Regions from separate parts of the Homo sapiens genome. Here region 2 is linked to region 1. The links are contacts of gene promoters, found by promoter capture Hi-C in human tissues and cell types (Jung and others, 2019). All regions are on one chromosome and are shown on one strand. Each heading gives the region's core, a stretch centred on a gene start or on the middle of the fragment in contact. The rest is flanking DNA. Distances are from core to core; before and after follow the strand shown. Region 1 holds the start of TBC1D21 (TBC1 domain family member 21). Region 2 has its middle 27 kb from the start of STOML1.

Region 1 (3,576 bases), core at 581-3,080:
GATCATTCAGCCCTGGAAAAAAATGGACACATGTAATTCCCTTTCAGAATCTGAAAAAAGAAGAAAGAGGGATGGAATAAAAGCCCTTTTTGCTTCCGTTACAGAGTCCTGCAGTTCTGTTTGAATATTAAGCCTCCATGTGGTTGCTATGGGGCTTTTGTAATATGACTAAACTGTATTGGCTCATTTGGGGAAGGGTTATCACCTACAATTCACAGATAGGATGCCAGAGGTTAAAAGAAGTTCAGTAGTTGATCTATGTTCACCATGTTCGTTTTAGAAGCCAGGTTGAATTGAGCCCTCAGATGTTTCCAATTCCCGACCTGATCCTCATCTTCTCAAGGAACAATTGCAGTGAATCCTCAGTTGCCTACGTGGTTAATGTGGAAGAACAGAGACATAGATAATCCTAAATGATGTCTATGTCTCTTGCTCTAAACATTTGCTTTGGAAACTTCTTGCAGACCTTAGAATGAAGCCACCCTAATGTGCAAGGGGCCCCATCCTTACTCCACACCTTCCCTACTCAACGTTGCCCACCTCCCACTCCATGAAGACCTAGGGGCAGTAGATCAAAGGGAAGAGGCTCTTAACTCTCTCCTAGGTTGAGCTAGGGTAGTGGGTAGAGGAGAGAGGCCGATAATAAGGCATTTTGATTTAAAAGGCCTTCTGCAGTGCCGCAGGCAAGCAGAACAGAAACAGTAAATGAGACAATGAATTGTGTCCGTGGAAGACTCCATATGGACAGTGATTCATTATGTTAATAAGGAGGTGAAAGCCAGAGGTTGACTGTATTCTGATTTCATGTCTGGGGAATCTGTAGCTCAGAAGCGGGGAGCATCCAAATTTGAGGTCAGAGTCCAAATTCCAACACCCAGCTCCTGATTCCAATTTGGTTGGTCGAATTACTATCATCTCCTAATGACTAAGGATGCTTTAGAGCCAGATGGGACCTGAGTAGAAGTGCAAGCAATGCTTAAGGTGGAGAAGAGTGATGCTGGAGCCAAGCAGAGCCAACTCCTTGGGTCCATGCAACAAATATTGAGCACCTACCAAGTGCCAAGTGATGGCAGAACTGGCATTGGGAGAGGGAACCACAGAGGAATCTGATGTTGACCCTGGCCTAAAGGAACTCAGGGTAGGAGGTGATATGGGGCAGGCACAAATCTCTGTCATACATACAGAGAGGGAAGTGAGATGAGGTCTAAGACAGCTTCATTTATTCTCCCATTCAATTAAATCATTAACTCAGCTACTCAGGCACGATCGTAAGTGCTCCAAATAAAAAGCTAAACAAAACTGATCTCCACCCCAGAAGCTACCATTCCAATGCTGAAGCTAAGTCACCCCAGGAGGCATATCAAAACACATTCCCCAGCCCCCCAGGCCCCAGCACTGACATACTGATTCTGAATCTTTATAACTGGTACCCAAGACATCTGAAGCCTGGTTTCTAGTTATTCTCCAACTTTGGGCACTGGTCTGGTGGAATAGGGAGGGAGTCCAGCTAAGAGAGTCCAGAGGAAGAGTCAGAGATAGAGAGCAAGGCTTCATGGCCCACCTCTCCCTGGAAGCCCTCCTTGACCAGCACAGCCCACACTGATCCCCATGTCCTCTGAATCCAACCTCCACTGCGTGTTCTGCAGTTTTGCATTTTTCTGTTTGTTGTTGTTTTTTGTTTTTCTTTCTTTCTTTTCTTTTCTTTCCTTTTTTTTTTTTTTTCCAAAACTAGCAGGTTTAATCCCTCTTCTCCTGCTTGTGTCTCATCTCTAAAGGTGGGTGTTCCCGTGTTCCAGGTCATTGTGATGAGAGTTCCAGGGGACTTGTGACACACTGCTGGCCGGCTCTGTTCAAGTGTGGGAGGTCAGGAGCAGCCAGTTCCTCCTGGGAATGCAACCCATCTCCGAAAAGGATTAAGCATCACTAGGGCTCCAAGTGAGTTCTGATCAGAGGCTGTTCGGAAGACAGCAGGGGCCATGACCACCCTCTCTCCTGAAAACAGCCTCTCTGCCAGACAGTCAGCCTCCTTCATCCTGGTGCGTGTTCTTTGTCAGCTCTGAGTGCCTCCCTCCCCAGCCTCTGGTTGGCACTGGGACCATTTTCCCCTGCTGGGTAGGAAAAGCTAGAACCCTGAGCTAACATAGAAGGTGGAGCAAGGGCGGTTGTACCTTACTCTTACCATCAGCCCAAGGACAGGACTGAGACATCCAAGCCCCCTTTCACCTTCTTTCCAAGCCAGCAAAACCTTCTCCACATATGTGCTATTCTAACTTTATTGAGTTGTAGGTTTGCAGGTGCGAACCTGAAGATGCTGATAGATTTTCATCGGTGCTTTTTGCCAACAATTTTGGTATACTGCCACCAGGTGGCAGTAATGCTTTTGTTAGTAGGTAGTTCTAAACCCAGTTTACAAGATACAGCTATTTGTTAGAAGTCGGCTTCAGTCATAAAAATTTTCCACACGGTATTTTTTCAAAATCATAACTAATTACAATAACTTTAGCCAATCTTAAGTCTCATTAATCATAGTGATTAAGAGAGTGATACATAAAAATGCAAAATGGACACTCCTCTCCCTGAGTTTTAAATGTTACTGCTTTATGGCAAATTATCACCAGGCCTTGCTTTAAATTTTCTTTATATCTTTCTCATTTCTCTGAGCTTAGAGAAGGCTAATAAAATAAACTGTCACATAGCATTTATTATGTACGATGAATGTTCTAAATGCTTTATTTATAGTCATTCATTCTCATCACAACTCTATGAAGTGAATAATGCTGTTGTCTTCCTTTTATAAATGAGAACATGGAGCCACAGAGACTTTGTCACTTGCCTACAGTCACACAGCTTGTTAAGTGGCAGAAGTTGTATTTCGACCCAGACAGGTGGGGTGCAAAACTCAGTATTCTCAAAGTGTGGCATCCAAACCTGCAGCATTAGCACCAACTGGGAACTTGTAAGAATGCAGACTCTTGGGCCCCAGATCTTCTGAACCAATAAACTGGAGACGAAGCCCAGAGATCTGTGTTTTTTGTAACTCATCCCTCCAGGGCACTGTGATGCACAATTAGCTTTGTGAACCACTGTTTTAAACCATTTTCTTCATCACGGTGCTGTACTGATGATACACCCTCCACACCTGGGTTGGTAATAATTGCTGAAGTGGGAACCCCTTGTTACGGTTGGGAGTCTATCTTGTCCTCAGGTGAACTGGAGTAGAAAAGAGAACCTGTCCAGGTGCAGTGGCTCACGCCTGTAATCCCAGCACTTTGGGAGGCCGAAGCGGGCAGATCACCTGAGGTCGCGAGTTCAAGACCAGCCTGGCCAATATGGCAAAACCCTGTCTCTACTAAAAAATACAAAAAATTAGCCAGGCGTGGTAGTGAGTCCCTGTAATCCCAGCTACTTAAGAGACTGAGGCAGGAGAATCACTTGAACCAGGGAGGTGGAGGTTGCAGTGAGCTGAGATTGCGCCACTGCACTCCAGCCTGGGCGACAGAGTGAGACTCCATCAAAAAAAAAAAAAAAGAAGAAGAAGAAGAAGAAAGAAGGAAGGAAGGAGGGAAGGAGGGAAGA
Region 2 (3,576 bases), core at 528-3,027, 91 kb after region 1:
AATTTTTGATTTTGCCCAAATTTCTATCTAAGGGATCTAGGGAGTCATGCCCTACAAATCCTAAATTCTCATCAGATGGGTTTTATTTATATATTGTGACTTACTTTTCAATCTGACTCTGGTATAACATTACGAGACAAGGAAAAAATATTTAACCCCAAAATATATTTCCCTGCCATAGCTTGAAATTGCCCTGCAAGTCTCTTGTGGGAAAAATCCACATTCTATAGAGAATCCCCTTGCCCCTTTGTTTTCCTTCCTTCCTTTCCAGATCCAGGAGATAATCAACTAAGAGCCAGGCACTCTTTTAGGTCTAATAAGAAACATTTTACAACCTGCTCTCTCTCTCCTCTCTGTCTGAAGTCTGCTATCTGAGAGATTCCTCTGCACAATAAAACTTGGTTTCCACAATCCTTTATTTTAACCTGAACATTTCCTTTCTATTGATCCCAGATCTTCAGACAAACTCAACCAATTGTCAACCAGAAAATGTTTAAATTTACCTATAGCCTGGAAGTCCCCACTTTGAGTTGTCCCTCCTTTCTGAACCAAACCAATGTATTTCTTAAATGTATTTGACTGATGTCTCATGCTTCCTAAAATATATAAAACTAAGCTGCACCCCGACCATCTTGGGCACATGTTCACATGTTCTCAGGAGCTTCGGAGGGCTGTGTCACGGGCCATGGTCACTCATATTTGGCTTAGAATAAATCTCCTAAAATATTTTACAGAGTTCGACTCTTTTCATCGACAGTGTTGATATGTTGTATTTTTATTTCCATTAGAATATTTCTAATTATCCTCATGGTTTCTTCTTTGAACCATAAGTTATCTAAAAGTGTGTTGTTTGATTTCCAAACATTTGGGGACTTTCCAGATATCTTTCTGTTACTGATTTATAGTTTAATTTCATTATGGTGAGAAAACATACTTTGTATGATTTCAATTATTTTTAATTTGTTAAGATTTGCTTTATGGCCCAGAATATGGTCTATCTTGCTAAAGTTCCATGGGCACTCAAAAAGAATGTGTATTCTGCTGTTGTTGTGCGAAATGTCCTATAAATGTCAATCAGATTGTTGGTTATTAGTGTTATTCAAGTTACCCATACCCAGCCTGATTTTCTGTGTACTCGCTCTACCAAATATTGAGAGAAGAGTGGATGTGTCTATTTCTCCTTTCAGCTCTAACGGTCTCGATTGCATGTACCCTGACTGTGTTCTCCAGTGCACATGCATGGACAGTTATGATGTCCTCTTGATGAATCAACCCCTTTATATACAGTCCTTCTTTATTCCTGGAAATATTCTCTGTTTCTGCTTCATCTGACATTAATATAGACACTTGAGCTTTCTTTGGATTAGTGTTTGCATGGCATGCCTTTTTTCCATTCCTTTGGTTTTAGGCTATCTAGGTCTTTATTATTATTTTTTATTTCTTTTGAGACAGAGTCTCGCTCTGTTGCCCAGGCTGAAGTGCAATGGCGTGATCTCAGCTCACTGCAACCTCCACCTCCCGAGTTCAAGCGATTCTCGTGCCTCGGCCTCCCAAGTGGTTGGGATTACAGGCATGTGCCACCACATCCGACTAATTTTTGTATTTTTAGTAGAGATGGGGTTTCACCATGTTGGCCAGGCTGGTCTCGAACTCCTGACCTCAGGAGATCAGCCCGCCTAGGCCTCCCAAAGTGCTGGGATTACAGGTGTGAGCCACCGCCCCAGCCCTAGGTTTTTATATTTAAAGTGTGTTTCTCACAGACAGCCTGAGGGTCCCGGAAATTTTCTGGAAGTTGCGGCTCCACCCTCAGCTCTCAGCAACCCCTGCTCGCCTGCACTACCTAGGGGATGCGTGGTCTTGCCCTCCTCCTGGTGGTAAATGTCTCTGTGTGCTCTTGCCCGCCCCCTGGTGGTAAATGCCGTTGCTGCTACTCTTGGTTGGGCTAGTAGTGGAGGCAGTTTGTGGACGTGTGTTAAAGGGTTTCCGGACGGTGGGATGTTGCTCCATTCTCCTGGCCCAGCCTCCGCAGAGCCTGTGTACTAGGGTCTCAGAAGGTGGAGTCTTCGAAGTGCTCCTGTCCCTCCTGTCGTGCCTTCTATCTCCTGTGGGTTTAACACAGGAGAGTGCGTCCTGCGCCTCCCACAGGGGCAAGTGGTGTTTACTTTGATCCTGCCCCAGAAGCAGTGGATCTTCGTTTCTGCCTCTCCCGCAGCAGCCCTGGGGCCAGAGAGTGCAGCCTCCCACGTGGTTTTGCCCAGAGAGAATCGTCCTGGGGAAGCAGGTGGGGGTCGCTGCACAGCAGTCAATCACCGCTTGAGTGCTTGTGCCACCAGCAAGGGGGAGGGGTCTCTCCCGGCTCCCCCTCTGCCTCCAGTCTTTTTCCTGCAGTGAAGGCCTGTGCAAAAAGCTCAGAAGGCAGGGCAGACTCCCTCCTGCCCACCACATGCTCTGCCCAAGACAGTTGGTCTTGCCTTTCCTTGGAGGGGCTTGTCACTCTTTGGAATTCAGTTCTCTTGGTTGCCTGCCACCTCAGCTATCTGACTGGTTTAAGAAATTATGGTTTTGCAAATTATCTGGTGTTTTGTTATTGTTAGAGTCGGGGGGCGGGGTGGTTCATTCCTGTACTCCCAGCACTTTCGGGGGTGAGGTGGGTGGACCCTTTGAGCCCTGGAGTTCAAGACCAGCCAGCCTGAGCAACATGGGGAAACCCTGTCTCTACAAAAAAAAAAAAAAAAAAAAAAAAAAAATTAGCCAGACATGGCGACAGGAGCCTGTAGTCCCAGCTACTCAGGAGGCTGAGGTGGGATGATCACTGGAGCCCCCCCAGAAAAGAATGGGAATGATGTTCCCTTGTGGTTTTTCTATATCCTAAGAGGAAATAAAACACTCTTCTCTTTCACTTTTAACATATGCAAATGAGTGACTCTAAATGCCTTCTAGGGCAATGTCTCATGGCTTACAGTGCCTCGTGGTTTTTCTCATTTCTTTCATGATTGCAGCTGTATTTGCTACCACTTGTGCAGCTGACATTTACCAAGCCCTTACTGTGTTCCAGCATGCTTTCATTTAGAACCATCCCTGACTCCTCTTTTCTCTCAAACCCACGTTCAATTTGTCAGATAATCCTGTTGGCCCCATGTTCAAAATATAACCAGTTCCTTTCAAAAATAAAAATGGACTTATCATAAAACCCGGCAATTGCACTGTCATGCATTTTTCCCAGAGAAATGAAAACTTATTTTCATGGTGGAACTTGTACACAAATGTTCATAGAAGCTTTATTTATAATAGCCCTAAACCAGAAAATACTCACAAACTATGGTATATTCATACCACAGGATACTATTCTGCTGTAGAAGGAATGAACTATTGGTACAAGCAACAACTTGGATGAACTTTTGCTGAGTGAAAAAGCCAGCCTCAAAAGGATACATCACTGCATGATTCTATTTACACGGCAAATAATATAATTAGAGAGGGAATAGACTAGTGGTTGTCAGGAGTTAGGAATGTGTATTAGTCCGTTCTCCTCTTTCTATAAAGAAATACCTGAGACTGGGTAATTTATAAAGACAA

What was found. The method cuts DNA at HindIII sites, captures the fragments that hold promoters and counts their contacts. A contact is called where the count stands out against the background at its distance.
Region 2: a fragment that was not itself captured here is called in contact with the fragment with the promoter of TBC1D21 in region 1 in 2 of the 25 tissues and cell types used here (H1 embryonic stem cells and aorta).

What each region holds. Positions count from the first base shown.
Region 1 is chr15:73,871,734-73,875,309 of GRCh38, forward strand. It overlaps TBC1D21 (TBC1 domain family member 21), which reads left to right and starts at 1,831. Exons shown (of 11, transcript NM_153356.3): 1 at 1,831-2,036. The coding sequence starts at 1,977. LOC102723657 (a long non-coding RNA gene) reads right to left here and starts at 1,802. Exons shown (of 6, transcript XR_932455.3): 1 at 1,562-1,802; 2 at 210-370. The HindIII fragment of the contact is 7,159 bases long and covers 1-3,576 here.
Region 2 is chr15:73,963,012-73,966,587 of GRCh38, forward strand. No RefSeq gene overlaps it. Among named protein-coding and RNA genes, the nearest start is that of STOML1, 27 kb to the right of the region's middle. RefSeq lists a silencer at 2,915-3,064. The HindIII fragment of the contact is 3,981 bases long and covers 1-3,576 here.